Regions from separate parts of the Homo sapiens genome. Here region 1 is linked to region 2. The links are contacts of gene promoters, found by promoter capture Hi-C in human tissues and cell types (Jung and others, 2019). All regions are on one chromosome and are shown on one strand. Each heading gives the region's core, a stretch centred on a gene start or on the middle of the fragment in contact. The rest is flanking DNA. Distances are from core to core; before and after follow the strand shown. Region 1 overlaps TDP1 (tyrosyl-DNA phosphodiesterase 1). Region 2 holds the start of KCNK13 (potassium two pore domain channel subfamily K member 13).

Region 1 (6,571 bases), core at 1,837-4,336, 52 kb before region 2:
AGTCATTGTCATTATTACTTTACAGTCACTTCTTGTTTACAGTTACCCATAAGTTTACTCATTTCTTTGTTCTTTTTCTTCCCGGTAGCCCTGTCCTTTCAAACAAATTCAGTTTTATTCCTGAACTGTATCTTTTATAGTTATTTCACTGATGCCTTCTTACTGGCAATAAGCTCTTATTTGTTTTTCTAAAACTCCCTTTATTTTTGCCCTCATTTTTGAGTGATAATTTAACTGAATTTAAAATTCTTTGGCCGGACGCGGTGGCTCACACTGCCCATACCTGTAATCCCAGCACTTTAGGAAGCCAAGGCCGGTGGATCAGTTGAGACCAGGAGTTCAAGACCAGCCTGGGCAACATGGTGAAACCCTGTCTCTACTAAAAATATAAAAATTAGCTGGGCATGGTAGCTCACACCTGTAATCCCAGCTACTCAGGTGGCTGAGGCATGAAAATCGCTTGAACCCAGGAAGCAGAGGTGGCAGTGAGCTGAGATCGCTCCACTGCACTCCAACCTGGGTAATAGAGCAAGACCCTGTCTCGGGGCGGGAAACTGGGACAAAGTAACTGCCAACTAAGATTTTTTTTTTTCCTTTTAAGGCAGAGTTTTGCTCTGCCACCCAGGCTTGGTTCACTGTAACCTCCACTTCTCGGGCTCAAGTCATCCTTCCACCTCAGCCTCCCAAGTAGCTGGGACAGGTATGCACCACCACACCTGGCTAATTTTTTATTTTTTTTTAGAGATGGGGTCTCACTATGTTGCTGTTCTCACACTCCTGAGTTCAAGCAATCCTTCCACCTCAGCCTCCCAAAATACTGGGATTACAGGCGTGAACCACCATGCCTGGTCTTCCTCTAAGTTCCTTAAATATTTTTTTCCATTGGCTTTTGAGCTCAGTTGTTGGTATTGAGAAGTTGCCATCTAATTGTTGCTCCTTGTGGAAAAGCTGTCTCATCTCTGGCTGTTTTTAAGATTTTCTTTATATTTGGTATTCTTCAGTTTAGCTACGATGGATAAATAGGTATGGATTTATTTTTATTTAGTCTCAGCAGGGTTTGTTGTATTTCTTCACTCTAAAGAACTGATTTTTCAACAGTTCGGTAAAATTATTGGCTATTATCATTAAGCATATTGACTCACCCTCTCTCACTTCCTTCTTGCAACTCTTATGAGATGCTTGTCGGACCCTCTCATTCTATCTTCAGTTTCTTACTTTGCACCTCTTTGCCTCTGAGTTGCATTCTACCTAATTTCTTTAGATCTTTCTTCTGTTTCATTAGTTTTGTTTTCAGCTGTGACTCATGGTATTTAATTCATCAGTAGAGTTTTTAATTCTAGTGACTGTATTTTACTTTTGGACCTTCTTGGATACCATATGTTTCATGGTTTAGAGTTCAGCCCAGAGTCACGCTGCCTGAGTTCGAATTCTTACTCTACCACCTAGTACCTGTTGAAATCTTGGGCAAATGACTTCCATTTTCTCATCTGTTAAGTAAGTATAGTAATAGAATAGGTATCTAATAGTTAAGAATGAAAATAAATAGAATATATAAAGGTATTAAAACAACATTTGGCAGTTAATAGATGCTGCATATTAGCTGCCATTATTAGCAAATTTGTTTTATGCTTGTTTCATTATTTCTTTTGTATGTTGTTTACTTTGAAATCTTTTGTTTATTTTTGTTTTGTTTTTTGAGATGGTGTCTTGCTGTGTCACCCAGGCTGGAGTGCAGTGGCACGTGATCATAGCTCCTGGGCTCAAGCAATTCTCCCATCTCAGTCTCACAAGTAGCTGGGACTGCAGGTGCACACCACCCTGCCTGGCTAATTTTTGCATTTTATTTTGATATGGGATCTTGCTTTGTTGCCCTGGCTGGTCTCAAGCCTCTGGCCTCAAGTGATCCTTCTGTCTTGGCTTCCCAAAGCACTAGGATTACAGGCATGAGCTACCATGTCCAGCTCAAATCATTTTAAGTATACTTATTTTTAACTCGACATCTAATTGGTCAATCATCTGAAGTTCCTGGAGGTCTAATTATATTTTCTGTTGTCTTGCTCATGATGGATTTGGATTATTTTCCCTTTTATTTTAAAATTTGTGTCTTCACTGAAGCTTTAACTATAAAAATTATCTGTGACTTGAGTGGACAAACCTCTGTACCTCCAGATAGATTTTGTTGCTGCTGGTCTCTTCAAGAACCTGGAACCAATGTCTATGTTAATATCTTGACATAAGGTAGGGGCAGATACCTAGCATTCCAATATTTGAGAGATCAGGTGGAAGAAAAGGAGTGACCAGAGAGGTTGAAAGCAGAAAGGAAGCCACAAAGTGTAGCAGAAAACAAGGAAGAATAATTACAGTAATGTTTCAATTATGCCAGGGGATAAGAGGCACTGATGGTAGAAGTCTCATGCTACAGAGAGATTAAGATGAGAGTAAAGAAGTTTCCATTGGATATGGCAGTGTGGAGTGACTTTAAGTGGTTTCAGGATAGTGGTTTGGGGAAAAGTCTTATTGAAAGCACATAATAGATTGAAGGGTAAGTGTGGTTCTCTGCAGTATTGTACTGGAAGTTATAGCCAGTGCAATAAGGCAAAAAAATAAAAGACATAAAGATTATTAAGGAAGAAGTAAAACTATATTTGCAGAAGATATGACTGTGCATTTGTAAAACCCCAAGGAGTTTAAACATGATTTCAAGATTCACTATAAAAGCAGGGTAAGACTGTGATATCAGCATAACAATAGATAAATTGATGAACAGAACAGAACAGAGTCCAGAAATAGACACATATATCATCAACCATTTTTGACAAAGGCACCAATGTAATTCAGTGGATGAAGGATGTTCTTTTCAATAAATATTGCTAAAGCAATTGGATATTGATGCAGGAAAAAAAAACCTTAGCCTATCTTAGGACATAGACAAAATTAACTTCAGATGTATCATATGCCTAAGTGAGAACGCTAAAGCTATAAAGCCTAGAACAAGAATACCCTACAACCTTGAAGTAGGCAAGATTTAGTACATAAGACATAAAATGCACTTGCAAGAAAAGATTTACACATGTTTGGACTTCAGAATATTTTAAAACTTTATTTTGTCAAAAGACACCATTTTGGGATGGATGAAAAGGTTTTTCTGAGTAAGACCTCACACCCAGAAGCTATAAAGTCAAAAACTGCACCTTGGATAACTTCCTTCCTCGCCCCAAAATGGAAGAAAACAAGCAAAAATTACCTTCTGAACTATAAAGGTTTTCATAAACAAAGTTATAACTGGGCAAACATTTGCAACATAATTGTAATATATGAAAAGCACTGTGTGGTGGGCAGAATAATGGCCACCCAAAGATGTCTTTGTGTAAAATCCTCAGGGGCTGTGACTGTTAAATTATCTGGCAAAGGGGAATTAAGGCAGCAGGTGGGATTAGGTTTGCTAATCAACTGACCTTAAAATGGGGTGGTTATTGGGGGAGGGCCCAGTATAATCACAAAGATACTTAAAAGTGGAAGAGGGACAAGTCGAGAGAGAGAGCACTGCATGAAAAAGGACTCAGCTAACCTCACTGGCCTTGAAGATGAAGGAACAGAGACATTCCAAGGGGAATGCAGACAGCCTCTAGAACTAGAAAAGGCAAGGAAATGAATTCTTCCTGAGGGCCTCTGGAAGAAACACAATCCTCCTAAAACTTTAATTTTACTTTACTTTGTGTAAGATAATGAATCTTTGTTTTAAGTCATTAAATTTGTGGCATTTTGTTAGAGCAGCAGCAGGAAACTAATGGGCACTGCATATCAAGAGAAAAAAACAGTATCATAGTTTAAAAATTGATACTTCACGGAGGTAAACATCAGCGTTCAGTAGTGATATGGGCTGGCTGTATCCCCACCCAAATCTCATCTTGAATTGTAGCACCCATAATCCCCACATGTTGTGGAAGGGACCTGGTGGGAGGTAATTCAGTCATGGGGGTGGGTTTTCCTGTGCTGTTCTCATGATAGTGAATATGTCTCATGAGATCTGATGGTTTTTATAAAGAGCAGTTTCTCTGCACACACACTCCTGCCTGCCACCATGTAAGGCATGCCTTTGCTCCTCCTTCGCCTGCTGCCATGATTGTGAAGCATCCCCAGCCATGTGGAACTGTGAGTCCATTAAACCTCCTTTCCTTTATAAATTACCCAGTCTTGGGTATGTCTTTATTAGCAGTGAGAGAACAGACTGTTATAGTAAATTGCTACCGGTAGAGTGGGGTGCTGTTATAAGGATACCCAAAAATGTGGAAGTGACTTTGGAACTGGGTAACAGGCAGAGGTTGGAACAGTTTGGAGGGCTCAGAAGAAGACAGGAAAATGTGGGAAAGTGGGAACTTCCTAGAGACTTGGAGGGCTCAGAAGACAGGAAGATGTGGGAAAGTTTGGAACTTCCTAAAAACTTGTTGAATGGCTTTGACCAAAATGCTGACAGTGATATGGACAATGAAGTCTAGGCTAACATGTTCCCAGATGGAGATGAGAAACTTGTTGGGAACTGGGGCATAGGGGACTCTTCCTATGTTTTATCAAGGAGACTGGTGGCATTTTGCCCCTGCCATAGAGATCTGTGGAACTTTAAACTTGAGAAAGATAATATAGGGTATCTGGCAGAAGAAATTTCTAAGCAGCAAAGTGTTTGAGGTGATTTTGGGTGCTCTTAAAGGCATACAGTTTTATTCATTCATAGAGATACTCTTTGGAGTTGGAACTTATGTTTAAAAGGGAAGCAGAGCATAAAAGTTGGAAAATCTGCAACCTGACAATGCAATAGAAAAGAAAAACCCATGTTCTGAGGACTACAGAAATTTGCATAAGTAATGAGGAGCCAAATGTTAATTGCCAAGACAATGGGGAAAATGTCTGCAGGGCATGTCAGAAGTCTTCACGGCAGACCCTCCCATCACATGCCTGGAAGCCTAGGAGGAAATGGCTTTGTGGGCCAGGCCCAGGCCCTTGCCGCTTTGTGCAGTCTTGGGACTTGGTGCCCTGCATCCCAGGCATGGCTAAAAGGTGCCAACATACAGCTCAGGCCATTGCTTCAGAGGGTGCAAGCCCCAAGCCTTGGTGGCTTACACATTGTGTTGGGCCTGTAGGTACACATAAGTTAAGAATTGAGGTTTGGGAACCTCTACTTACATTTCAAAGGATGTATGGAAAAGCCTGGATGTCCAGGCAAAAGTTTGCTGCAGGGATGGAGCCTCATGTCATTAAGTGTTTATGGCTTTTCCAGGCACATGGTGCAAGCTGTCAGTGAATCTACAATTCTGCAATCTTGAAGGATTCTGGCCCTTCTCACAGCTCCAGTAGGCAGTGCCCTAGTGGGGACTCTGTGTGGGGCCTCCGACCCCATAATTCCCTTCCACACTGCCATAGCAAAGGTTCTCCATGAGGGCCTCGTCCCTGGAGCAAACTTTTGCCTGGACATCCAGGCGTTTCTATACATCCTCTGAAATGTAGGTAGAGTTTCCCAAACCTCAATTCTTAACTTCTGTGTACCCGCAAGGCCATTGCTTCAGAGGTGTGCTGCAGGGGTGGAGCCCTCATGGAGAACCTCTGCTAGGGCAGTGCAGAAGAGAAATATGGGGTAGGAACCCCCACACAGAGTCCCTACTGGGGCACTGCCTAGTGGAGCTGTGAGAAGAGGGCCACCATCCTCCAGACCCCAAAATGGTAGATCCACTGACAGCTTGCATGGTGGGCCTGGAAAAGCTGCAGACACTCAATGCCGGCCCCTGAAAGCAGCCAAGAAGGGGGGCTATGCCCTGCAAAGCTACAGGGGCAGAGCCTGTCCAAGGTCATGGAAGCCTACCTCTTGGATCAGCGTGACCTGGATGTGAGACATGGAGTCAAAGGAGATCATTTCGGAGCTTTAAGATTTGACTGCCCTGACAGATTTTGGACTTGCATGGGGCCTGTAGCCCCTTTGTTTTGGCCAATTTCTCCCATTTAGAATGGCTGTGTTTACCCAATGCCTGTACCCACATTGTATTTAGGAAGTAACTGACTTGCTGTTGATTTTACAGGGTCATAGGCAGAAGGGACGTACTGTGTCTCAGATGAGTCTTCAGACTGTAGACTTTTGAATTAATGCCGAAATGAGTTAAGACTTTGGGAGGCTGTTGGGAAGGCATGATTGGTTTTGAAATGTGAGAACATGAGATTTGGGAGGGGTAAGGGGTAGAATGATATGGTTTGGCTCTGTGTCCTCACCCAAATGTCATCTTGAACTGTAGCTTCCATAATTCCCATGTGTCATGGGAGGGACCTGGTGGGAGGTAATTGAATCATGGGAGTGGGTTTTCCCAAGCAGTTCTCTTGATAGTGAATAGGTCTCACGAGATCTGATGGTTTTATAAAGGGCAGTTCCCTGCACACGCTCTCTTGCCTGCCGCCATGTAAGATGTGCCTTTGCTCCTCCTTTGCCTTCTGCTATGATCGTGAGGCCTCCCCCGCCATGTGCAACTGTGAGCCCATTAAACATCCTTTCCTTTGTAAATTATCCAGCCTCGGGTATGTCTTTATTAGCAGC
Region 2 (6,326 bases), core at 1,553-4,052:
ACAAAGATACGGAGCATCCAGAACTAGTGTACACTGTCAGTACAGCTGCTTTGGGAAAATGTCGGGCAGTTTCTCATAAAGCAAAATACATACCTACCCTATGACCCAGCAATTCCGCTCCTAGGTCTTTACGTAAGAGATATGAAAACATATGTCTACATAGTTGTACAAGAATGTTCCTAACAGTTTTATTTATGATGACCAAAATTTTCTAACAGTTCTCCTTTCTATCAATAGGAGGAGAATGAATAAACAAACTATGGTATACCCAAACAATGAAAAACTAGCAATAAAGAGGAAGGAATTACTAAGACATATAACATGGGTAAATCTCAAAAACATAATGTTTTCCACCAAAGAGTACATACCGGCATGATTCCATTTATATGGAGATTTAGAACAAAAAAACAGTTCTATAAAAGCGAAAGTAATCGATGGTAGAAAAATTCTGAACAGTGGTTTTCTCTGGAGGAATGTGGGTAGGGAGTTACAGGGAAGGGACTTAGGGGGACCCTGTTGGTGATGTTTGGCTGGTAGGTTGGATAGGTGATTTGCAGAGGTGTACCCATTTGTCAGAACTCACCTAATGATACACTTAAGATTTGTGCATTTCATTGTATGTAAATTTTATCCGAAAAGGAAAAAAATTCTGCAAGTAAATATTGAACCCTACGTAGTGATATGCAGGCAGAAGTACTGGGGATGAGGGCGGAAGTGTACCAAGCTCTGCAACTTACTCTGAAATGCATCCAAACAAGATGGGTTGATGGATGGACAGAGGGACGGGTAGATATCTAATAAATCAAGTATAGTAACATGTTAATTGTAGAATCTAGGTGGTGGGTATACGGGTGTTCACTGTAAAATTCAACTTTTTAGAATGTTTGAAATTTTTCATAATAAAATGGATTTAAAAGGTAATTGCAGTACTCACCCTGGGTGTATACACATGCACCCATTCTCGCGATGCCCCTAAAGCTCTTGCCCCTCAGAAGGCTAGATGAAAGAGGGGCATTGGGGAGTGAGTAACAGAGCCGAGAGGACTGCTAACAGCACCAGGGTTTCTGATGAAAATGCACTCGCCAGAGCTGTGTTTCTTTATTCGAAATCACACGGTTTTACTCAACAGGGCTCCTAGCCCTTCTGTCTCTGCTCCTGGTGCGTAAGGGCGGTGTGTGGGGCTCTGCGCCTGAAACCGCTCTCTCGGAAGGTGGGAAGATGCCCACGTATCCATTCCTCTCCGCGTACAGATTCGCTCCCACACGCCCGGGCGGGTGATTCCGGAGGGCCGCGCGGGGCTGTGTGCGCGGGCGGGGGCGGGATGTGTCTGGAGGGGGCAGAGCGCCCTCTCCCGGCCCCGGAGGGCCCACGCGGACCGGCTGAGCGTCCCACCAGCCGGTTCTGCATCCACTACCCAGATCTGCGCGCCCTGGTGGGAGCACCGCAGCCCCGGGTCGGCCCTTCGAACGCCGAGCGTCTACCCGCGGAGACCAGCGCAGGAGGCGGGCCCGCGCGCAAGGAGGCGGGCGACAGGGTGGAGTCGCCGCAGCTGGCAGCCGCACGGCTCTACCTGTTGCAGCGTCGGAGCGCGCCCGCCTGAGAAGGCAGAGCGCGGTGCGGACCTGTGCTCCGCGCGCCGGCTGGCAGGGCAGGGCCGCGGCTGCCAGGAGGCCCGGGAACAGTCCCGACGGAGCGGCGCGGAGAGGGCGCTCCCCGGAAGGTGAGATCTGAGCGCGGCAGCGGCGCCAGCGCCCGCTACAAGGCGGGGTCTCGGGGAGGGGGCCCCGGCGGTTTGCTGGAGAGCCTTGCTACTGTTCTGCATGAGGTGGGGGATGCCTTCTGCGCGGACCCCGCGTCCAGGCAAAACTCTGGAACGCACTAGGCAGCCAAGCCCGGGGGGAAGAGATGGAACGCTCCAAGGTCAAGGTCTCCTGGCCGCGGAGCCCTTCCAGCCCCCAGTGTTTGGCCTCCTCTCCGGAAGCGGGGCTGGCTCGCGGTGCGCGCTTGGTCCGGGCGGAGCCTACTAGTAGGCGCAGAGGACGCCCCCGCGCAGGATCCAGAGACCAAGGGCGCTCTGGCATGGTCAAGGCGAGGGAGGCTGCCCGGGGGAGAAGCCCCTAACTTCCTTTGCTCCCTGTTCCAACCTCCCTTTCTGGTCTCCTCTCTCCAGCCCGTCCGCCCAACGGATGCGCAGCGTTGGGGCCCGGCCGGAGGTCGGAGCCCTCGGACGCCGCAGCCCTCGGACGCCGCTCAGCACAGCCCCTCTCTCCGTGCGCCCGCCCTGGACCCCCTCCATCCCTAAGCCCCGGCAGCCGATTCGGAGACTCGGGAGGCCACAGGCTCAGCGCGACACCACGACCACAACTAGGAGGCACCATCGTCGATCTACCTGGGGAGGCACCTACAAAGCCAGCAGACTGACACCCGTGTCCTAGCCGTCGGCGGCCTGCGAAGCGATAGTCAAAGGAACCAGGACCCAGGACCCCGGCGCTCTGCTTACCCGCAGACCTCCGGACCGCGCCCCCCCCCCGCCGCCCCGCCCCGCCCCGCCCCGCCCCGCGACCGTCTCTTTGCGGGAAACTCGAGTTGGCTCGAGCTTGCCCTGAAGACGCGCCACGCCCCCTCCCCTATCTGAGCCGGACAGGGAGCCGGGGTGGAAACTGCGCCCGCATCCCAGCGCCAAGCAGACGTGAACTCTGCGCCCGTTCCCCGGGACCTTCAGCGTTAAGGAGAACTCCGAGGAGAGCAGGGGGAGTGGAGGGGAACGGCGGCGACAAAGCGGATTTGAAACTAGGAGTCAAGGAGGACGTGGGGAGCTGGCGCCACAGGAGCTACCGAGGCGGCGGCCGGGGGAGCCTCGCGGCCTGCGGGAGAGCCCGGCGGTCATGGGCGAGCCGGCGGTGGGGCGCCCGGGAGCTGGCTGAGCGCCGGGGCCCTTATTTCCCGGGGGTGTGGGCGAGACTCCGCCGACGCCCGGTGCCGTGGGCCTGGGGGCTGCCCCCGGGGGCCCGGCCATGGCTGGCCGGGGTTTCAGCTGGGGCCCGGGCCACCTGAACGAGGACAACGCGCGCTTTCTGCTGCTGGCCGCGCTCATCGTGCTCTACCTGCTGGGCGGCGCCGCCGTCTTCTCCGCGCTGGAGCTGGCGCACGAGCGCCAGGCCAAGCAGCGCTGGGAGGAGCGCCTGGCCAACTTCAGCCGCGGCCACAACCTGAGCCGCGACGAGCTGCGCGGCTTCCTCCGCCACTACGAGGAGGCCACTCGGGCCGGCATCCGCGTGGACAACGTCCGCCCGCGCTGGGACTTCACCGGCGCCTTCTACTTCGTGGGCACCGTCGTTTCCACCATAGGTAAGTGTGCTGGCCGGACTCGCTGACAACCTCCGGGCGGCCTCCACTTCCTCCGGGGGGCAGGACCGACCCTCTCATCCTTTCATTCATCCATCTGGGCGCCCAGCCAGACTCCACTGACATGAGCTGTCGCCTGATCAACAGGTGGTATTGCCTCCCCGCTGCTCTAATGTGGTCCAGGCACCGGCAGCTTCAGCGTCACCTGGCAGCTTGTTAGAAATGCAGTCTCAGTCCCCTCTGCAGACCTGCCGAGTCAGAATCTGCATGTTAACAAAGTCCCCAAAGGATTGGAATGATCCTTAAATTGGAGACGCTCTGCTCTGGGAGATTTTCAGTCTAATGAAGGAGACACGGCTTGAGTTCATGGGGAAGAAGGCTTTTACAGATAGGGACAGGAAACTAAACATTTACTGAGTCAGTCAGAGGGGAAGTGCAGATTTTAAAAGATTCTGCCCTCGACTTCACACTTACCGAGAAAAAATCAGAACAGCAGACTGAAAGTGAGGAAGCAAAAGTGCCAATGACGGTTCAAAAGATGGAAAATTTTCCACCAGGAAGAACCAGGGAAGTGACCTTTGGGCTGAATCAATTCGTGTTAGGCATAACTTGGGTTTGGGAACTGAAAGCGCGGTTGCACTCTAGAGTAGGAGAGAATCGCACTCAGGGGCCCCATGAGCTGGTTGGAGTGGTGGAAGGAAGACTAGGAAGGTCTGCTGGCTAATGGGATGGAGGCGGGGGTAGGACCTTCACTGACAGACTGAGGAGCTGGAATTTACCTAGAGGCACCTGGGAGCCATTGAGAATTTTTTAGCAAAGATGTAGCACAGCTACAATCAGCTGTGTTTATTTCCCAGCAGAAGGAAAATGATTTGGGGGAGTCTGCGCCACACCCCTAAAGATTGTTCATCCTTGAAGAATAATCAAGTGATTAATGGGGGTTAGGGAAGATGCTGTAGAAATAAATTCTGAGGGGGGCAAAAAGAGACCTGGAGCAGGGGAGGGAGGTTGGAAGAGTTAGACGGAGAGGAAGTGGCCTCCAAGCTGCAAAAAAGGCTGGCAGTTGCAAACAGCCCAGGGTGCATGTGCTGAGCGCTCTGTAGCTACTGCCCCTGTGCACTCTAGAAGAGCTCGCTGGTGAGGTGGGGCGACAAGTTGAGCCTCCTTGAGGCTCCCACACATGGCTGTGCTACATAGACATTCTGCCAGGAGAAGCAGCACAAAAGACAAAAGAGATTGGCTTCAGGTCAGATTCATCATGAAAGACTTCCCAGGGCTAGTCCAGGAATCCAGGGCTTCAGCTGATGCACAGGAGGCGAGGCAGAGGACCAGTATGATTAGGGACACACCGGCTGTATCTGAAGTGCCTGGCTCCCAGCCCCCATCCCATCCCAGATGGTGCGGCCCATCAGCAGGCCATGATGGCACCACCATAACTGGGTATCAGGCAGGAAACCTTGCAGCAGACCAGAATGGGCCCAAGATTGGTGAAGGAGGAATAACACCCCCATGGTTCTCCCCCTGAGCCCACACTATCTGCTGGACTCTTAGCCGTGTTCCACAAGCCCCTCCTCACATCACCTCCCACGTCCCAGAAGACAGTTCCAGAATCTCCACATAGGCAAGACTTGGGATGAACAAACTGATTAGGAGGTGTCACTTTGGAAGTGACCTTGACTCTACTGTGTTTGCATAGCAAGTACAGGATTTTTTTAGATTGAATGGTAACTTAGGGTGGTTTTGATGGGAGATTTGATGGCTGAATCTTTCCCACCACCATGAAAAACCATCTCTTGGTGCTCCCAGTGGGCACAGAGGCAGGAAGGAGCAGAGTGTGTGTGTGGACAGGTGCATCCATGTAGCAGGAACTGAGAGTGGCATGGGTAGGTGGCCATATAGGAACATGGGCTTTGGGGATACGAATATGACAATGTGGCATGGAGGAGTGGAAAGAAACCTGGACAAAGAGTCTGGAGTGGGAGCTTTTCATCCTGCCTCTGTATCTTGGGCAAGCCTCTTAACTATTCCGAGCCCCATCCTTTTCTCATCTGAGGCATCTACAGAGTGCCCACCTTGGTATCTGGCACATCAGCTATTTGGTGAATATTAGTCCTGCCCCCTGCTCCCTCCGTCTGCGTAAGCCTGCCCCTGTCACAGGGTTCTTGTGAGGGACAATGAGCTCTTGTAAGTGCGTGCGTGTTAAAAGGTAAAAAACATGATGTCAGTGTGGGCTGATTTTTATTTCTCATTTGTAACATTTCCTTTTAAATTGTTTCACTAATTGTTGTAATAACAGCACTGGCTAACCTTTATCAGGCCCGTATTAGGCACATACTGTATGATTATTATGTGAATGTGCAATGCAGCTCATTGCTGTGTGACATTCACACTTCATTTCAGCCAACACAACTCCATGAGGTAGGCATAACACTCCCCCGTTATAGATGAAAAAGCTGAAGGTTCAGGTTTTTTGTAAAATAAAGTATAAAGAAGAAAAAAATCAAGTTATATGCAGTAATATCATCCAAATTAACCACTGTTCATGTTTTGGTCCATTTTCTTCTGGTCTCCTTTTTCCTCTGCGTATACTTATATACATATGCATTTTTAAAAATTAGAATTATATTCTATAAACCACTCATATCTTGCATTTTTATTGTAACATTACATGATGGTGTTTTTCCTCTAAAAATTAATTCCACCATGCTTTATTCTGCAAAGACTTTGAGGTAGCAGACAAAGTATACAGGAAAATAATCATAAAATACAAATAAAACTTCAGAACCAGGGAAAAGAAGAACAGAAATACGGGATGCAAGTGGAGCTACGAAGTTGCTAGAGAGGAACTTTGTCTTAGTTTGGGTTCCCTTAGAAGCAGAGCTTGAGCCAAGAATTTGAGTGTAAGCAGTTTGTTGGGAGGAGCAAGGGATACAGGTCGGTGCAAGGGAAAGTGAATCGAGGAAGGAAAGTAAGTTAATCCA

What was found. Contacts are between HindIII fragments. The study calls those that stand out against the background at their distance.
Region 1: a contact is called between a fragment that was not itself captured here and the fragment with the promoter of KCNK13 in region 2, in 1 of the 25 tissues and cell types used here (aorta).

Annotation. Positions count from the first base shown.
Region 1 is chr14:90,007,046-90,013,616 of GRCh38, forward strand. The region is part of intron 14 of TDP1 (tyrosyl-DNA phosphodiesterase 1); the gene reads left to right. Among named protein-coding and RNA genes, the nearest start is that of KCNK13, 52 kb to the right of the region's middle. The HindIII fragment of the contact is 6,858 bases long and covers 1-6,515 here.
Region 2 is chr14:90,059,192-90,065,517 of GRCh38, forward strand. It overlaps KCNK13 (potassium two pore domain channel subfamily K member 13), which reads left to right and starts at 2,803. Exons shown (of 2, transcript NM_022054.4): 1 at 2,803-3,348. The coding sequence starts at 3,015. LOC124903406 reads left to right here. Exons shown (of 3, transcript XM_047432048.1): 2 at 1,211-1,720; 3 at 2,171-2,542. The coding sequence ends at 2,435. RefSeq lists a silencer at 1,106-1,495 and enhancers at 1,744-2,245, 2,246-2,745. The HindIII fragment of the contact is 23,188 bases long and covers 1-6,326 here.